Linked DNA regions of Homo sapiens: all the other regions are linked to region 3. The links are contacts of gene promoters, found by promoter capture Hi-C in human tissues and cell types (Jung and others, 2019). All regions are on one chromosome and are shown on one strand. The core of a region is centred on a gene start or on the middle of the fragment in contact, and the rest is flanking DNA. Distances in the headings are between cores, read along the strand shown.

Region 1 (2,700 bases), core at 60-2,559, 89 kb before region 3:
ACAAGGGTGAAACCAGAGCACAGCCCCAACCCCATTCACAGGCAGGAAACTGAAGCTTAGACAAAAGGGATTTACCGAGGTCAGCTGGCCCCAGGAGGTCTGCAGACCTGTAGGTAAGCCCAGGACCCACCCATCCCTTACCCTGCCAGCCCCCAGCCTGGAGTCACTATCCCTGGGTACGAGAACGCACAGATCTCTGTGGCTTCTCCAGGCCTGTCTACATCCCTGGACTGGACGCTTACTACCCAGACCTGGAGTTGGAATCCATCTTCCACGCTGTCTACCCATGCGGTGCAGTGTTGAGAATTAGAAAAAACACCCCTTCAGTAAGATTTAATAACCACTACCTGCTGGAAACCTGTTGAAAGAACTATATATATATCCCCATATATATAGCTGAGAGGTGGCAGGCACCCCCTGGAGTTGGGCAATGACCCCTTGCACAAATGGCCCTGCCCCACCCCAATCCACAGCCACAAACAGAACCCAGGAGTGAGGCAAGCATGGCCCAAGGACACAGGGTCCCCCAACCCCATCACAGCTCTGGCTCTACTCCAGAGCTGACCCCCCGCCCCCATTCAGGGCTGCCAGATCCTCCTGGGTCTGTTTCTTCATGCTGCACTCTCCCCTCCTTTTTTTTTTTTGAGACAGAGTCTCACTCTGTTGCCCAGGCTGGAGTGTAGTGACACGATCTCGGCTCACTGCAACATCTACCTCCCGGGTTCAGGTGATTCTCCCACCTCAGCCTCCCGAGTAGCTCAGATTACAGGCACGCACCACCACGCCCAGCTAATTTTTCTATTTTTAGTAGAGAGGAGGTTTCACCATGTTGGCCAGGATGGTCTCGATCTCTTGACCTCGTGATCCGCCCGCCTTGGCCTCTCAAAGTGCTGGGATTACACGCATGACCACTGCGTCTGGCCCACTCTTCCCTCTCAATTCCAAGAAGCCACGGCTCTCTCAAGGGCTTCTTCGAATAAGTCAGGTGACTCTGCCCCAGCCCTCCCTCACCCACCGGCATACCTCTCTCAAACCCACTTAGCCAAGAAACAGAGGCGCCCCCTAGCCCAGACGCAGTTGGATAGAGAACCCAGGGCTCTCCCCTTCTGTGGGATCCCTCTGCAGGATGTGCCCACGTGAGTTTCCCCCTTCACCCCGAAGTGCAACTCACTCCCACTGCACAGGTGCATAAACCGAGGCTCGGAGAGGAAGAGGAACTCCTCTAGAGCACAGCAAGCATACGGCAGAGCTGAGAATGGAACTCAGGCCTCCAGACACTCCTGGGAGTCCCCTGGCCTGAGCTTCCCCACTTATGATGTCCAGCATCTCAGAGAGAGTGAGTGGCTCCTCCGGGTCACACAGCGCTGGGCCACAGCCAGCTGCCCTCACTCACTGGCTCACCAGACTCTGGATCTGGTCGTCCAGCAGCACACTAAAACCAAGCTAAGATTCCCCGCTGTGACCCAGCTCCTCTCCTCCCCGCCTCCCCAGGCAGCATGGGGGCGGGCAGTGCGGTGCGGGGGAGGCATTAAAGGCACAAGAACTGCTGCAGGTGGGACAATGGCTGGCTGCTGGTCCCATCCCTGGGGCTGTGTGATCTGGGACCGCTGCAGGTCTGAGTCCGGTGGGGTCTCAAACCCTGAATGAGAGACCTGAACTCTGAAAGCCTCGGTGGGGCTGAATGAGGCTGGGTTTCAGTGGGAGGCAGATTAGACCAAAGGTTCCCTGGGAGATGGGGCCACAGAGCTGGGCTGCAGCCAGATGCCCACGCCAGGAGGGGCTGGAGATGTAAGCATCTGAGGCCCCACAAGGTCTGAGGAGCCTAGATCACCTCTACAACCCCAGGGCAGGGGATGCCTCTCCTAACAGGCCCTCTCCCCAGCTTGCAGGGCTACAGGTGGGGCTCTAGGAGCTGTCACTCCAAGGACCCTGGTCACCTGGACTGAAGGGAGTCACATGATCCAGGAGGGTCCTTCCTCAACCCCCAATTTCAAGGGTCTGAGCAGACAGGCTGACAGAGGACCCCAGACAGTGGGAGCAGGGGGATGAGGCCCATCCATCCATCACGCCCTCACCTGCTCTGCCCCATTCAATGAGATGGGGTGGGTGCCCCCACAGCACTGGCAGGCCCAAGCCTCTCAGCCCTCAGATCGAGGTCCACACATGGTCTGCAGCCTGCCAGTATTGTCACTCTTAGCAAGGTGCATACTTACCTTCCTTCTTTCATTCCATCATTCATTCTCTCATCAAATCCTGGCCCCTCCAGATTCTTCTCTCAAGGAGCCCTGACCTGGCTGGGCATGAGACAGTATGGTCACCCCAGGGGGAAGAGCCCTACGGAAGGGGCAGACACCAGAATAGGGCCCTTGGGAATCCAGCCGGAGGTGGGATTGGATTTGGGGAGGACCTGACAGGCAGAAGGAACCACCTGAGCCTGAAGGCCAGGAAATGGAGCCTTTTCCAGGAAGTGAGGGCTGCAGGGGACCTCTTGACCACCCTAGGCCCGTCCTGAGCCCCGAGGTGTCAAAGCTGGAAAAGGAGGTGGCCGAGCTAAGACCTTCAAGGCCAGGCCAGTCTGGACTTTGAGAGCCCTGGGAGGCTGGTCAATGTGTCACCGGGCCCAGTAAACCATTAACCCTGGCTCACTCATTAAGACCCTGGTGGGTGTCCATTAGCTCCTTGGCCGGTTTCAGGAGCCGG
Region 2 (2,700 bases), core at 17-2,516, 72 kb before region 3:
ACTTCTCTGTGCGCTGACCCCCTCTCCTTGTAAGAACCCCAGGCATGTTAAATTAGGGGCCACCCTAATGAACTCACTTCACCTGAATTACCTCTTGGAGTACTCTGTGTCCAGACACAGTCACATTCTGAGTCTCTGGGGTTGAGAATAGAAACAGTTACATTTGGGGAAGGGGACACAATTCAACCCATAAAATAAACAAATCCCCTGCAGCAGACAGACACCCAGGAAAGGGATATCTGGGTGAAAGGATATGCAGATATCAACTTTCAACAGCTCTAGCTAGTTGACTTTCCAAAAGGGCTCCAGCTGGTCACACGGTCACCAGCAGCCTCTGAAGGTAGCTGCTTCTCTGAACGCAGCCTCCCCTGAATACTAACACGCTTTTAACTTTTCGCCAACCTGCTGTCTGTGTGGCAGAGAAAATCCTTGTTTCATTTCCACTTTCAAACATACATTTGCGTAACCTTTCACGGGTTCAATACCTGCCTGCGTTTTCCCCAAGTCGCCTCGCAGATCCTGGGCCTTGGGACGCGCTTCCTCCCACCCTGGAGTCTTCCGGCATTTTCCCCTTGGCCAGGGCTGGGATGGCCGTAGCTGTTTCTCCAGACTCACGTTCATGTTAAAGGAACAAAAACAATCATATACCTTTAAGTCAAAGAGTTCTTCTAGAGCGTATTGTCCTGTGTGCTGTTGCTGAAATGAGGAGGGGATGAGGCCTCCCCAGGCCTTGAGGACTTGCAGGGATGATGCTCTTCATGCAGGTTGCTGACACAGAGGGTGCTGTTGCCCCACAGCTGACAAACACCGGGACGATGCCTTGAAGGCAGGAATCGTTTTATCATTCTCCATCCTCACATGCAATGTTACTTTGAAAGCCTAGAACGCTTTTCACCATGGGCACCCAGGTTCTCCATATGCACAAGTCCCTGAAGGGTTGGTGCTTCTTGGTGTGAGTTCCAGATCCCGATCCTCTGGTGGTCCATGGTGTTACCACTGACTCCCATGTCCCTCCTTGTCCCCCTAGTATGAAAATGAGATCTGCAGGATGCTAACTTTCCAGCCCGGCACTGGGGAGAAGCTGTTGGGAGTCCCTGGTTCCAGCCTTTCTAACTAAACCCATCTCCTCCTATGCCACCTGCCTGGGCCCCTCCTGGGACTTTATCACTGTGCCACACTTTTTGGAACTACTGGTTAGAAGGTGAGTGTCCATCCCCCTCCAAGACACAGAGGTGCCTCTGTCCCCTACTGGCTCTGTCTTGAAGATGCACCTCTCGGAGCCTCGGTTGGCTCCTCTGGAACAGGGAGTAGTGAGAAGACGAACCTCACAGGGTTCTTGTAGGGACTCAATGATCTAAGACACAGCAAACAAAGGGGTCCCTAGAGCCTAAAACTCTGGAAAATCTGCTGGGGGTGCTGTGATTCATGTTTGTTACTTTTCTCTTCCCCCTCACTTGAAGCAGCTCTCAGCATTCTGCCTCAATGGCCTGTATCACTCACTGTTTGGAAAAACACATAGAAACCAAGTCTGCGATGGCACTGGTAAAGGATGTCTGAGATTCCTTCTGGCTGGTCTTTCTCCTTGACACAGACAGAAGAGGGGTCCCTTGGTGCTGAAAAAGGAGCCACAGGCCCACTCAGACATCTGGAGAGGCTCACTGGGGTTCTCCAAAGGTTGGGGTTCACTCATTCAACACATACATTCAAAACACCTCATTTGTGCATCGCTCTTCTTGGGGCTTGGCATAATTTCATAAACAAAGCAGATGACAATCCCCCGGCCTTGATTCTACTCAGAGTCAGGCACTCACAGTAGACAGAATAAACAAGTCATATCTACAGAATGTTACAGGTGAGACCCTCATGGCCTCCTCTACGTATGGTGGCATCCTCCCAGATTCTGACTAGAATGACGCAGCCCAGCAACAAATATAAACTGGGTGGATTTAGGGTTCTGAAGGGCCTTTTCACCCACAAAACATGGGGGAAAATATGTGGACTCTGGCTGGGGAGAGACTAAAGGAGCTCTGGGGCTCATACTTCTTATAATTCCCACGAGAAGGCTGACATCTGGGGACTTCCCCCACAAGAGGCAAATAGTGAGTTCTGTAAATGGAGACTTAGGTCCCCTGCAAAGCAGAGGGGAGGCTGGGGTCACAGCTGGCCACTGAGAGACCCATCCCCCTCAGCACCGTGGCTTCCCAGCTCTCCCTGTCCTCCTCCCCCCGACATCTGCCCCTTCCCTCCTAACCCCAGGACCAGGGGACCCAGATCTGGAGCTTTGATGAGGAAGCTGCTCACAAATCTGCCTGCAGCTGCAGTCTTGAGTGCCCAGGTGTACAGTGCTGTGCTCCAGGGCCTTTGGGAAGAGAATGTCTGTGGGACGCCAGGGCGCACGAGGGTCTGTACAGCCCTGCTGTATGGCCAGGTCTGCCCCTTCCAGGACAGCACTGATGGCTTACGGTAGGGTGGGGCTGTCCTCCACACTGGCAGCAACAGGCCAGGGACCCAGAACCACGCAGGGGTGCCCTGGAGGGTTGTGTGGGAGAAGGCCAGGCCTCTGACTCAGCTGTCTACTCCATCACCAGCACCATCACCTCCATTTTGTTCAACTGGCCCCCCGAAAACACTTCAGTTTACTATCAGCCCCCGCAACGGTCATCTTTCCGGATAAAGCTGGCCTTCAGGAACCTCTCCTGG
Region 3 (2,700 bases), core at 100-2,599:
AGAAGCTCAGGCAGGTGGATCACCTGAGGTCAGGAGTTCGAGACCAGCCTGGCCTTCCTTATGTCTACTAAAAATACAAAAAATTAGCCAGGGGTGGTGGCTGGCGCCTGTAATACCAGCTACTCCGGAGGCTGAGGCAGGAGAATCGCTTGAACCCGAGAGGCGGAGGTTGCAGTGAGCCGAGATTGCGCCACTGCACTGCAGCATGGCTGACAGAGCGAGACTCATTCTCAAAAAAAAATAAATAGGTCAGGCTTGGTGGCTCAGCACTTTGGGAGGCCAAGATGGGCGGATCATTTGAGGTCAGGAGTTCGAGACCAATCTGACCAATATGGTGAAACTCCATCTCTATTAAAAATACAAAAAAAGGCCGGGCGCAGTGGCTCACGCCTGTAATCCTGTAATCCCAGCACTTTGGGAGGCCGAGGCGGGCAGATCACGAGGTCAGGAGATTGAGACCGTCCTGGCTAACATGGTGAAACCCCGTCTGTACTAAAAATACAAAAAAAATTAGCTGGGCGTGGTGGCGAGCGACTGTAGTCCCAGCTACTCAGGAGGCTGAGGCAGGAGAAAGGCGTGAACCCGGGAGGCGGAGCTTGCAGTGAGCCGAGGTCACACCACTGCACTCCAGCCTGGGCGAGGGAGCGAGACTCCGTCTCAAAAAAAAAAAAAAAAAAAAAAAAAACTAGCCAGGTGTAGTGGTGCACACCTGTAGTCCCAGTTACTTGGGAGGCTGAGGCAGGAGAATCGCTTGAACTCGGGAGGCGGAGGTTGCAGTGAGCCGAGATCGTACCACTGCATTCTAGCCTGGGTGACAGGGAGACTCCATCTCAAAAAATAAAAATTTAAAAAACACCAATAATAATAATAATTAATAAACTTAATAAATAAATAAATAAAAGACAGGAAATGACGGTGAGAACCGGTGTGAGGGACTAGCTAGTGGCCAGTGCTAACAAGGAGGTGCTTGTGACCTGCTATGGACCTGGAAGCGACTAGGGCTGAGTACAAAGGGGGCAAAGGAATTTGGGGGTGATGGAAATGTTCTGTATCTTGACTGTGGTGGTGGTTATATGAGAGTTGGCATAACTTTAAAACACCAGAAAGGGTGAACTTTACTGTACAAGTGGTTCACAACTGCAATCCCAGCACTTGTGGGAGGCTGGGGCTGGAGAATTGCTTGAGCCAAGTTCGAGACCAGCCTGGGCAACATAGGGAGACTGTCTCTAAAAAAAATCAATCCCAATGATGGCATTCCCCGCCTCAGGGAATGCCAGCCCCCACTTCTTCTGTCACCTCTCCCCCATGGGCCCCGTTAACGGATACAGGGAGGAAGGCATTTCCTGCCTAGATGTCTCCGCCCCCACTGCCATGGAGACCAGCTTGGAAGCTTAGGGGAGCTGCTGTGGCCCAGGGCTCAGTGGGGAGGAAGAGGAGGCCAGGAGTCTTGGACTAGCTGCAGGGTTTGAGCTAGGCTGAAGCAGCAGAACCACAGAGGTGGCTGAGCAGGGGCCTGGCCCTGGGACCCAGCCATCCACACTCACACATCCACTTCTCCCTCCAGAGCCCGGCCCTGAAGCAGGTCTCTGCTCCACGCTTTTCCTTAGTTGGGGAATCGAGAGTTGGGGGATCAAAGCCCCCCACATCTCCCTCACCCGCTGCAGCTATGTTTATCAAGGTGATGTTTGGGGGTAAGTGGGGTCCCCTGTCTTGGTAGGCGGATAGGGGGATGAGCACACTCAGAGGCGTGCTTCCTTCCGCCCTTGCGGTGGGTGGGGAGGCAATGGCGGGAAAGGGGGGTGGTGCACATGGCGGGGGTCGTCGGGGAAGCGGCTCTGTGAGGAGGCGAAGCCAGCACCTGGAGCGAGTCCCTTAAAGGGAAAACCCGAGCTGAGTCCTGCTCATTCACAAGGGTTCCTCTCGGCCAGAGACCGCCGCATTACCCTGGAGCAGGTTTTTAAGCCGCACAATCTCTTCGCCATTCAATCCGTGATCCTCAAGCTTCAGCGTGCATCAGACACCTGAAACTCTAGCCACAGTTGCAGGGTCCCCGTGCCTCTGGCTGGAGGCGGGTCGGCCCTGTGCGGTAGCGGAAGGGAAGAGAGGAGCCGGTGGGTGCGGAGGGCGGGGACTGGCTGGGTCCCGTGGGGGCGGGTCCCGGGAGGAGGCTGGGCTGGCGCCCACTTCGTGCTTTGCAGGACTCAAGAGACCAACACTTGGGAGTCACCACACATGGGAGAAAAGTCACCACACATGGGAGATGGATGGAGGGTTCTCCAAGGCAGTTTAAGCAACAGATGTTGGAGCTGTTATGCCCGGGGCACAGTCTTAGCCCATAGGCCCAGTCGCAGCTCTGGGAAAGGGAGAGATGGGAGGGAGAGACAGAGGACCCCGATTTGGAGGAAGGTAAGAGATCTCACAGGCTCACCTTTGCCCCTCTCCACAGCTGGCTGCTCGGTGCTGGTGAACACCTCTTGCAGGCTGGTGAACCTCACCGCCCACCTGAGGCAGAAAGCAGGGTTGCCCCCAGATGGTGAGGAGACAGGGAGGAGAAGGAGGGGCTGAGGGGTCCCAGGCAGGGGTGCCAGCCCTGCCCAGTCTCTCTCCATGTCCTCCCAGCGACCATTGCTCTCCTGGCTGAGGATGGCAACCTAGTGAGCCTGGAGGAGGACCTGAAGGAAGGGGCTTCCCGGGCCCAGA

The links. The method cuts DNA at HindIII sites, captures the fragments that hold promoters and counts their contacts. A contact is called where the count stands out against the background at its distance.
Region 1: a contact is called between a fragment that was not itself captured here and the fragment with the promoter of C22orf15 in region 3, in 2 of the 25 tissues and cell types used here (mesenchymal stem cells and thymus).
Region 2: a contact is called between the fragment with the promoter of RGL4 here and the fragment with the promoter of C22orf15 in region 3, in 1 of the 25 tissues and cell types used here (mesendoderm cells).

The regions. Positions count from the first base shown.
Region 1 is chr22:23,672,977-23,675,676 of GRCh38, forward strand. It overlaps the pseudogene GUSBP11. Among named protein-coding and RNA genes, the nearest start is that of RGL4, 17 kb to the right of the region's middle. RefSeq lists an enhancer at 943-1,547. The HindIII fragment of the contact is 4,614 bases long and covers 1-2,700 here.
Region 2 is chr22:23,689,747-23,692,446 of GRCh38, forward strand. RGL4 (ral guanine nucleotide dissociation stimulator like 4) reads left to right here and starts at 1,267. Exons shown (of 11, transcript NM_153615.2): 1 at 1,267-2,463; 2 at 2,589-2,700. The coding sequence starts at 2,285. It also overlaps the pseudogene GUSBP11. The HindIII fragment of the contact is 14,351 bases long and covers 1-2,700 here.
Region 3 is chr22:23,761,641-23,764,340 of GRCh38, forward strand. It overlaps C22orf15 (chromosome 22 open reading frame 15), which reads left to right and starts at 1,350. Exons shown (of 6, transcript NM_182520.3): 1 at 1,350-1,691; 2 at 2,447-2,533; 3 at 2,620-2,700. The coding sequence starts at 1,667. The HindIII fragment of the contact is 4,822 bases long and covers 1-1,695 here.